Linked DNA regions of Homo sapiens: all the other regions are linked to region 2. Evidence: promoter capture Hi-C in human tissues and cell types (Jung and others, 2019). All regions are on one chromosome and are shown on one strand. The core of a region is centred on a gene start or on the middle of the fragment in contact, and the rest is flanking DNA. Distances in the headings are between cores, read along the strand shown.

What was found. The method cuts DNA at HindIII sites, captures the fragments that hold promoters and counts their contacts. A contact is called where the count stands out against the background at its distance.
Region 1: the fragment with the promoter of SENP5 here is called in contact with the fragment with the promoter of UBXN7 in region 2 in 1 of the 25 tissues and cell types used here (dorsolateral prefrontal cortex).
Region 3: a contact is called between a fragment that was not itself captured here and the fragment with the promoter of UBXN7 in region 2, in 1 of the 25 tissues and cell types used here (small bowel).

What each region holds. Positions count from the first base shown.
Region 1 is chr3:196,866,519-196,869,353 of GRCh38, forward strand. It overlaps SENP5 (SUMO specific peptidase 5), which reads left to right and starts at 1,402. Exons shown (of 10, transcript NM_152699.5): 1 at 1,402-1,555. RefSeq lists a silencer at 1,179-1,758 and an enhancer at 2,410-2,835. The HindIII fragment of the contact is 4,194 bases long and covers 1-2,835 here.
Region 2 is chr3:196,431,000-196,433,829 of GRCh38, forward strand. UBXN7 (UBX domain protein 7) reads right to left here and starts at 1,428. Exons shown (of 11, transcript NM_015562.2): 1 at 1,328-1,428. The coding sequence starts at 1,400. UBXN7-AS1 (UBXN7 antisense RNA 1) reads left to right here and starts at 386. Exons shown (of 2, transcript NR_046745.1): 1 at 386-442; 2 at 1,203-2,035. RefSeq lists enhancers at 185-959, 536-585, 960-1,733, 1,666-1,745 and silencers at 1,296-1,355, 1,376-1,625. The HindIII fragment of the contact is 10,299 bases long and covers 1-2,828 here.
Region 3 is chr3:196,050,815-196,053,542 of GRCh38, forward strand. It overlaps TFRC (transferrin receptor), which reads right to left. Exons shown (of 19, transcript NM_001128148.3): 18 at 2,604-2,728; 19 at 1-1,370. The coding sequence ends at 1,128. Among named protein-coding and RNA genes, the nearest start is that of TFRC, 30 kb to the right of the region's middle. The HindIII fragment of the contact is 8,502 bases long and covers 1-2,728 here.

The DNA of each region.
Region 1 (2,835 bases), core at 152-2,651, 440 kb after region 2:
CAGGAGATCGAGATTATCCTGGCTAACTTGGTGAAACCCGGTCTCTACTAAAGAAATACAAAAAAAATTAGCCAAGCGTGGTGGTGGACGCCTGTAGTCCCAGCTACTCAGGAGGCTGAGGCAGGAGAATGGCGTGAACCCGGGAGGCAGAGCTTGCAGTGAGCCGAGATGGCGCCACTGCACTGCAGCCTGGGCGACAGAGCGACACTCCTCTAAAAAAAAAAAAAAAATCACTGACAAAGAGAAACTGTTAAAAAGAAGTGAGAGGGCCTGGTGTGGTGGTTCACGCCTGTAATTCGAGCACTGTGGGAGGCCCAGGTGGGAGGATCACTTGAGCTCAGGGGTTCAAGACCAGCCTGGGCAACATAGGGAGATGTCATCGCTACAAAAATAATGATAGTAATAGTAATAAAAAATTAGCCGGGCGTGGTGCAGGAGCCTGTGGTCGCAGGTACCCTGGAAGATGAGGTGGGAGGATCGCTTGAGCCCAGGAGGCAGAGGTTACAGCGAGCCTAGGGTGTGCCACGGCACTCCGGCTTGGGCGAGACAGCAAGACCCTGTTTGGAAAAAAAAAAAAAAGAAAAGAAAAAAGAAAAAAAAATCAACAGTAATTGCAGCCATTGCTTAGAACTAAGACTAAACAAAGCTTTTGTTTGGAAAGGAGTACTTTTTCATTAACATTGTTTAGAATTTTCTGACACATGATGATAATTAAAAGCAAACCATCCTGCAGTTGGCTTCGGTATTGTTTTTATCTTCTCCACCATCAATGCATATCCTTACTGCCTACACAGGCTCTCAGCAACGCACTGTTGGTTTTCCATTGCAGTCACCTCCACTTTATTCTTCCAGATCGAGTATGTTCAAAACTGAACTCATCTTCCGCCATAAATCTGCTATTATTATGTTTTTGCCTGTCAGGACATCGGCTTATAATTTTGGAAAGCATTCACAGTTGGGGCGGGTAAGACATAGATAAAGAGGCCAATCACAATACCAGGGGTAAGATCAATAGGAAAACCAGAGAGCGGACGCCTGGGCCAGGCCTCACAACGTCCAGAGCTGGAATGGGTCTTTTGCTTTCGGCGCAGGGGTGACGGGATCAGCGGAGGGTAGGGGTGTACACTAGCTGCGGTCTGATTTAGCCCTTTTAGGTTAAAAGCTGGAGAAGGGGCTGAAGTCTCAAACGCGCTTAGCAGCTCCTGAACGCGGTTCCCATCCCAGCGCGTTCTGAGGGAGGCCGGGGCTAAGGACGCGGTGACGGGCGGGGGCGGGGCGGCCCCGGGTCGGGAGGCGGGGCGGGAGCGCCGGAAGCGGGCGGTGCCAGGCCCAGCCTCGCAGGCGGAAGGGCGCGGAGGAGGTGACGCGATAGGCCAGCGCCGGCGTCGCGGCAGCCGCTTCAGAGGAAGCTCGGCGGCTGTGGCCGCGGCGAACAGGCCGGACGCCTCGTCGCTGGCGGGGCTTCCCTTGGAGCTGACGAAGGCGGGGTCCGCGGTCCAGGCTGCTGCCGCGACGGGGCCGGCGGCGGGGCAGCTGCCAGGAACGAGGGTAGCAGGTAAGCGGGGACGCGGGCAGACGAGTGACGGACTCAGCGATCGCCTGGCGGGGCTGGCTGGGGCCATTCCCGCGCCGGTGCGCCACCTCAGCGCCCGGTCCGGAGGCCTCGAGCCGCCCTCCCCCGCCCGAGCTGGAGGCCGCCGTCCGTCTCGGCCACAGCCTCCCTTTCCGGGGGAGGCGAGCGAGCTCGTCCCGAGGGGCCGCTGCCCTGCGCTCTCGCTCCAGCCGGGCTGTGCGTCGCAGGCACCGGGAAGCTGGCGCCCCCCAGCTCCTCCTGAAGCCGGGAAAGCTCTGAGAGGAGGAGCCGCTGTCACAGGCCTCCAGCTCCGGCCGCCGTGGAAGTCCGGGGTTTTTATTTGCTTAGACCGCTCTGCCTCCTTCCGGCCTTCGTTTCTTTCCTCGCGCTCCCCGGGACCCTTTTCCAGAGAGCCCGGTTGGGCATGAGCGCGGTGGGAGACGTCTTTTCCCTTCGGTCTGCTCTGAGCGGTATCAGCCTCCGCTCTACGCCCTGTGGCCACTCTGTCGGGGTGGAGGGATGCGGAGAGGATGTGGGAGTTTTGGACTTAGAGCGAGAATAGCCGAGGTGAAATCCTACCCTGCTCTCTGGTAGTGTTTTTCATCTCATGCTAGATAGACATTTCGACCTTTTTCACCGCAGGTAAAGTGGGACTTTCTTCTACCAATGTAAATTATAATGTTTGGAGAATTAAATGAAGAAAGCAGACGTTAGTTATGAAATGTTTTGAGAATCTGGTTAAATTTAATTTAAGAATATCCAGGACACTTCATGATAGGTTCCTACTTATGTTTTTTTTTTGCATTTTGCCCGGAATAACTAAGCTTGGTATGGAAAAGGTTGCCTAGAGATGCCAGGCGCTCGTGTGGTCAGAGCCTAACTGCAGTCTCTGTTTTGGGTGGGCAGCATCAGGAAGAAACCAGACTCTCTCCTAGCCATCCACATGTCTCACGCTTATTGATGGCATATTATTGGTATATGAGGGATGGCTTATATCAGTTTTGATCTTTACTCAAGATAGCTTTTTCCCAGTGCATCTTTTCTAGGAGAAAAGCTTGGTATGTAGAGGAGGGTGCTGGGGAGGGGGGCTTCATTTACACCTGGGCTCACAATTTTTTTTTGGAGGGGGGACAGGGTCTCACTCTGACACCCAGCCTGGAGTGCAGTGGCGCGATCTTTTCAGCTCACTGCAACCTCCTCCTCCCAGGTTCAAGCGATTCTCCTGCCTCAGCCTCCAGAGTAGCTGGGATTACAGGTGCCCG
Region 2 (2,830 bases), core at 178-2,677:
ATGCCCACAAGCTAGATAACAATGCGTCAAATATCTCGTTATCATTGCAAAGCAAAAAAATAAAACTTGCTTTAATATAAAACGGTAACTAGTATACAACCTGTAGTAGTTAAAACAATATAAAATTTTACTTAACCAGATATTGCACGTTAAACTCTAGGAACATTAACAGTGGAAACATTCTCCGCATCTAACAAATTACGAGATAAAGTATAGATCCGTTGAGAGGGAACTAACATTCTGACCTCCTTCCAAAACGACAAACTAGAACGGCAAAATTACACTCAGGCACATTGGAGTACTCTTCTCTCAAATCACTCCACAGAGAACTTCATCATTTGCTCCGCCCTCTAATAACTCATGCAAGAAAAGTTCAGCACCATCAGAGAGAAACAAGACAGAGAGAATTCATAGAATGGCTTTAGGGCCTTTCCTCCAGGCGGTAAGAGGATCTGCGTGTGTCCTTCGCAGGGGTCCAAAGGGAGAGAACCTAGGCCTAGGGTTTCGGGGATACCGACACCCAGAAACAGATTTTCTCTCAAAGAAGTTTCTGCCGCCATCCCTATCTTATCAGCAGGAGGCCCCGGCGCCATCGTCTCCGTCTTTATGATTTTATTATGGGGAGGTGGGAAACGCCACCCTGGATTCTTCCAGGCCTCCCCTATTCAGCTTGGGGGTTCCCCCTCATTCTTCCCTCAAAGCCTCAGTCCCTGAGGTCCTCCTCAGCACCCCCCGCTTCTGGCGGCCTGTCCCCCGTGAAGTGTAAAGGCACGGCCGAACCCACCGGCCTTGCCGTGAAGGCGGGAGGGCCCGAACCCGCCAGGGCCACGGCGATGGCTCCGAGGGGCCCAGAAAGGGGAAGGGCAGGCCGGGGACCGGGGCAGAATGACCTGGCCGGGGAAGAAAGGAAAAAAGGAGGTGAGGAGATGCACCGCACCGCAGGGCTGCACAGAGAAGGGAAGATGATGAAGGAGGAGGAGGAGGGCGGTGGCCCGGGTGCGGCCCCCTACTCCTCCCGCCCCCGGGTCCCCGGGCCGGCGGGGGCGGACGGACTCGGCCCATTCCCAGGTCTGGGCTGGCGGGGGGTTGGGGGATCTCCCTCCACGCTACTAGGAGACAGAGAACGAGGGTATCGGGAGCGGGGGGGGGCTGTCTCCCGCCTGAACCCGGAGACCCCGACGCCGTCGTCGCCTCTTCCTCAGGAGGGAGGACGGCAGCTGTGGGTAAAGCCCGAAGGAGGAATGCCTGAAGGTAAGGGGAAGCCCGGGGCAGACCCGCTGCCCGCTCCGGACCCCACTCTCCACCTTCCGGTAACCGCGTCTCTTACCGGTAATGGTGGTGAACTGTTGAATTAACCCCTTCAGCGCCGAGGACGCCGCGGAGCCCCCGTGGGCAGCCATCTTACCGCCGCCGCCGCCGCCGAACAACAACACAGACACACACGGACTGCCCTCCCCCACTTCGCCGTGCGGTGTGCGCAGGCGCATTGACCGCCCCTCGAGCCCCGCCCCTCCCGTCCCCAGCGGTCTGCGCAGGCGCATTTTCCGACCGGGCCCGCGCGCTCCCAGCTCTCGGGTTGGCTGCTCGGTTGCTGCCTGCTCAGTGCATCCTTTTTGCCATTGCTGGTGCCTTCCTCTCCGGGCTCCAAGGCTAGCCTCGCAGGCGCGGTGTCGATTCCTAGATTCCGAAGGAAGCTTCGGTCTCGGCAGATAGTTCTTCGCATTTCAGCTTCGCAAGCTTTATTGACAGAGCCAACTGCCGATGACAGCATTTTTCTGTTTTGCGGTTGTACCGCACTCTATTAGGTTTCCTGCAGGTCCCATCAAAATGCAAACCCTACCTCCTCGCTTTGAAGCGACTCTCCCCGTACTCGCCCCCCAGCCTCTAAACTAATGGCTTAGCTAACCGATTGCGACGAGTGAAATACCAGAACCCTTCATGCCAAAGAAAGCACTTAGCGCGGGGTTGCCACCCAGTAGGTTTTCATAAACGATTGTTTAGTCTGCTTTCCTTAAATAAATTGGCCATCACGTCTCCCGTTAGGGTCTTAATGAGACCCCAAGAGGCGTCATTTGTATAAAAAGAAACTCTGTATATGCAGTAGAGGAAAGAAAACATATAGAAAGGAGACTGGAAAAGTGTGCTCAAAACGCTGGTAACGGTTACCTCCAGAGAAGAGAACGATCGGGACGATGGTCAAAGCGGACCTTACTTCGAGTTTCTTATTTATCTTTTTATTTTTAAACAAACATTATTGGCCGGGCGCGGTGGCTCATGACTGTAATCCCAGCACTTTGGAAGGCCGAGGTGGGAGAATCGCTTGAGGCAAGGAGTTCGAGACCAGACTGGGAAATATATCAAGAATCCATCTCAAAAAAAAAAAAAAAAAAAAGATATTCGTGTGTTCCTTGAATAATTTTAAGTATTTTGCAAAACAGTTACATGAGTGGGGTGCGCTCAAATCCAATAATCCCCCACCTTGCCCATAAAGTTAAAAGAGATTCCAAGTGATTCCGTTTGTTTTAGCCTCCCACCTTCCAACCTCCACCCACATATTTTGCATCTTCATAGGAAAATGGCCCAATAAAAGATGGGATGAGCTGTCTGAAGAATTGACACATCCTAAGAGTAAACATGCTATTGGGGAGAATTAAGAAAGAGCCATGTCAAATCAAGGGGTATAGTTTTTTGTTTTGTTTTGTTTGACAGGGAGTCTCGCTCTGTCGCCCAGGCTGGAGTGCAGTGGTGCAATCTCAGTTTACTGAAAGCTCCGCCTCCCGGGTTCAAGCGATTCTCCTGCCTCAGCCTCCCAAGTAGCTGGGATTACAGG
Region 3 (2,728 bases), core at 20-2,519, 380 kb before region 2:
TTCATCTCTAAATCTTAGCTTCAACTTTATTCAATTACATTTGGCTGACGGCTGTTTTCTAAAACCCTTAAGTGTTGACCATAAATGCAAAACTTCCAGTATCTGTTGGGTTTTATTAGCAGATGCTGCTTTTATTTAAAAAAAACCGACAGTATAACTGTCATAATTATGGAAGGCACTGCTTCCGATAATTATATTCTATTAAAAAAACACCATTTATAGTGAACTCTGTCACTGATAAATAAACAATAAATATCTCAGTGCCAAAAGGACAGAAAGCTCTCCCCTAAGATTAACACTTTGGCCAAAATTTGGCAGCATATTATTCTTTAAAGTCTGACAAACTGAGTCTGCAACTAAACACCTGAAACTGGTTCTCTTTCAATGTGCTTTGGAAGAAACAAAAATAACAAAGAACTAAATGGAGGCTTATGGGGGAAGGGACAGAGGAAAAGAAAATATACTAAGTCTTTGGCTTCTGGTCCCCTCTTTTCATAAATGACACTGAGGTTAACATATTAAGGCCTTATTCCTGCAATCAACAGTTGAACCTCATTTTATCCAGCAGAAGGACCTCCATTTCAGACCTCATTGGCAAGAAAACAAGCCCATCTCTTCTGAAAGTTAACTGTTTCTTTCAGGAATGAGGAAACCAGCTACATTCCTTATGGAAAGGCTTAGATCTCATTTGGAGAAGGTCTTTCAACCTGGTATCTCCTATTTAGCATCAAATGAAGTTGGAGGATCACTCAAAGTAAGCGACCACTTACAACCTTCAGCAGAGACCAGCCCTTAGGATTCAGAGAGATCATTCACATAACTGGTTTCTGACATTTTCATTAACAACAACAGGAAAGAGGCAGTTCCCATTACAAAGCACTTAAAATTCTAGAGATAGGGGAATATTCCATCATGGACATTTTTTAAGTGGTTATTCACTTTAACTTGAAGTACAGGTTATCTACCCTGTATTAAAAGCTGCTGCCTAAAGACATCTAGTAGTACCAAGATGATGGGATGGAATTTTAACATCAGGTTTTGTAGCCCTACTGAAAATTTAGCACGATCAGCACAAGTCTAGAAACCAGACTACCCTGCTGTTCTCATGGAAGCTATGGGTATCACATTTAAAACTCATTGTCAATGTCCCAAACGTCACCAGAGAGGGCATTTGCAGCTCCCTGAATAGTCCAAGTAGCTAGAGCCAACTGGTTTCTGAACAGCGTTTCATTAAAAGCACCGTTATTTTGTTTACGCAGTTTCAAGTTCTCCAGTAAAGCTGGCAGCGTGTGAGAGCCGGAGCCCCAGAAGACATGTCGGAAAGGAGACTCTTTTGGAGATACGTAGGGAGAGAGGAAGTGATACTCCACCTACGAAAACAACACACAAGGCAATTTACACAGCCCTGTGACTTTTGTAGTAAAACAACAGTTCACTTCAAATGTAAAATGTCCCAAATTTAAGAATGCCGATCAGACTTTTTTTTTTTTTTTTTTTTTTTGACACAGAGTTTCGCTCTTGTTGCCCAGACTGGAGTGCAACAGCGCTATCTCGGCTCACTGGTACCCTCCACCTCCCGAGTTCAAGCAATTCATGCTGGGATTACAGGTGTGAGCCACCGTGCCCGGCTTTTTGTTGTTGTTGAGACAGAGTTTCGCTCTTGTTGCCCAGGCTGGAGTACAATGGCGCGATCTCAGCTCACTGCAACCTCCACCTCCCGGGTTCAAGTAATTCTCCTGCCTCAGCCTCCTGAGCAGCTGGAATTACAGGCATGCACCACCACGCCCAGCTAATTTTTGTATTTTTAGTAGAGATGGGGTTTCTCCATGTTGGTCAGGCTGGTCTTGAACTCCTGACCTCAGGTGATCCGCTTGCCTCGGCCTCCCAAAGTACTGGAATTACAGGCATGAGCCACTGTACCCAGCCAGCTGATCAGACTTTCTATAGCAGAGTAAGGAAAAAAGAATGCTGAGAACCAGGCTAATGCTAATCTTCTAAGGTTAAAATTCTAAAGGAGGCTAGGCACAGCGGCTCACGCTTGTAATACCAGCACTTTGGGAGGCCAAGGCAGGTGGATCACTTGAGGTTGGGAGTTCGAGACCGGCCTGGCTAACATGGTGAAACTCCGTTTCTACTAAAAATACAAAAAATGAGCCGGGCGTGGTGTTGGGCACCTGTAATCACAGCAACTCGGGAGGCTAAGGCAGGAGAATCACTTGAACCTGGGAGGTGGAGGGTGCAGTGAGCCGAGACCGTGCCATTGCACTCCAGCTTGGGCAACAACAGTGAAACTCTGTCTCAAAAAAAAAAAAAATTTTTTTAAAGGAAACTGATTCATTTTACAAAGGAAAACTTTAAATGTGTTCAGATTCTTTTCCCCATTGGAGCATACATGGAAGTTTTACAGCAAGTCTCTTCCAAAAAGACTAGGTTTGACTAAGTTCTGAATTAGACAGCAGAAACAGAAAATGACAGCTAAACCATTAATGCTCCCTTCTTAAAGGAATTCTAGACTCCTAGAGTTTGTCCACTTTGCAGAAGTGTAAGATTTATCGGTTATTTTACACATACTTTAGTTCCTCCTTTCCCAAAAGTTCACTTACTCTCATGACACGATCATTGAGTTTCTTCATGACAAATCTGTCTGTTTTCTCAGCATTCCCGAAATCTGTTGTTAGTCTGGAAGTAGCACGGAAGAAGTCTCCACGAGCAGAATACAGCCACTGTA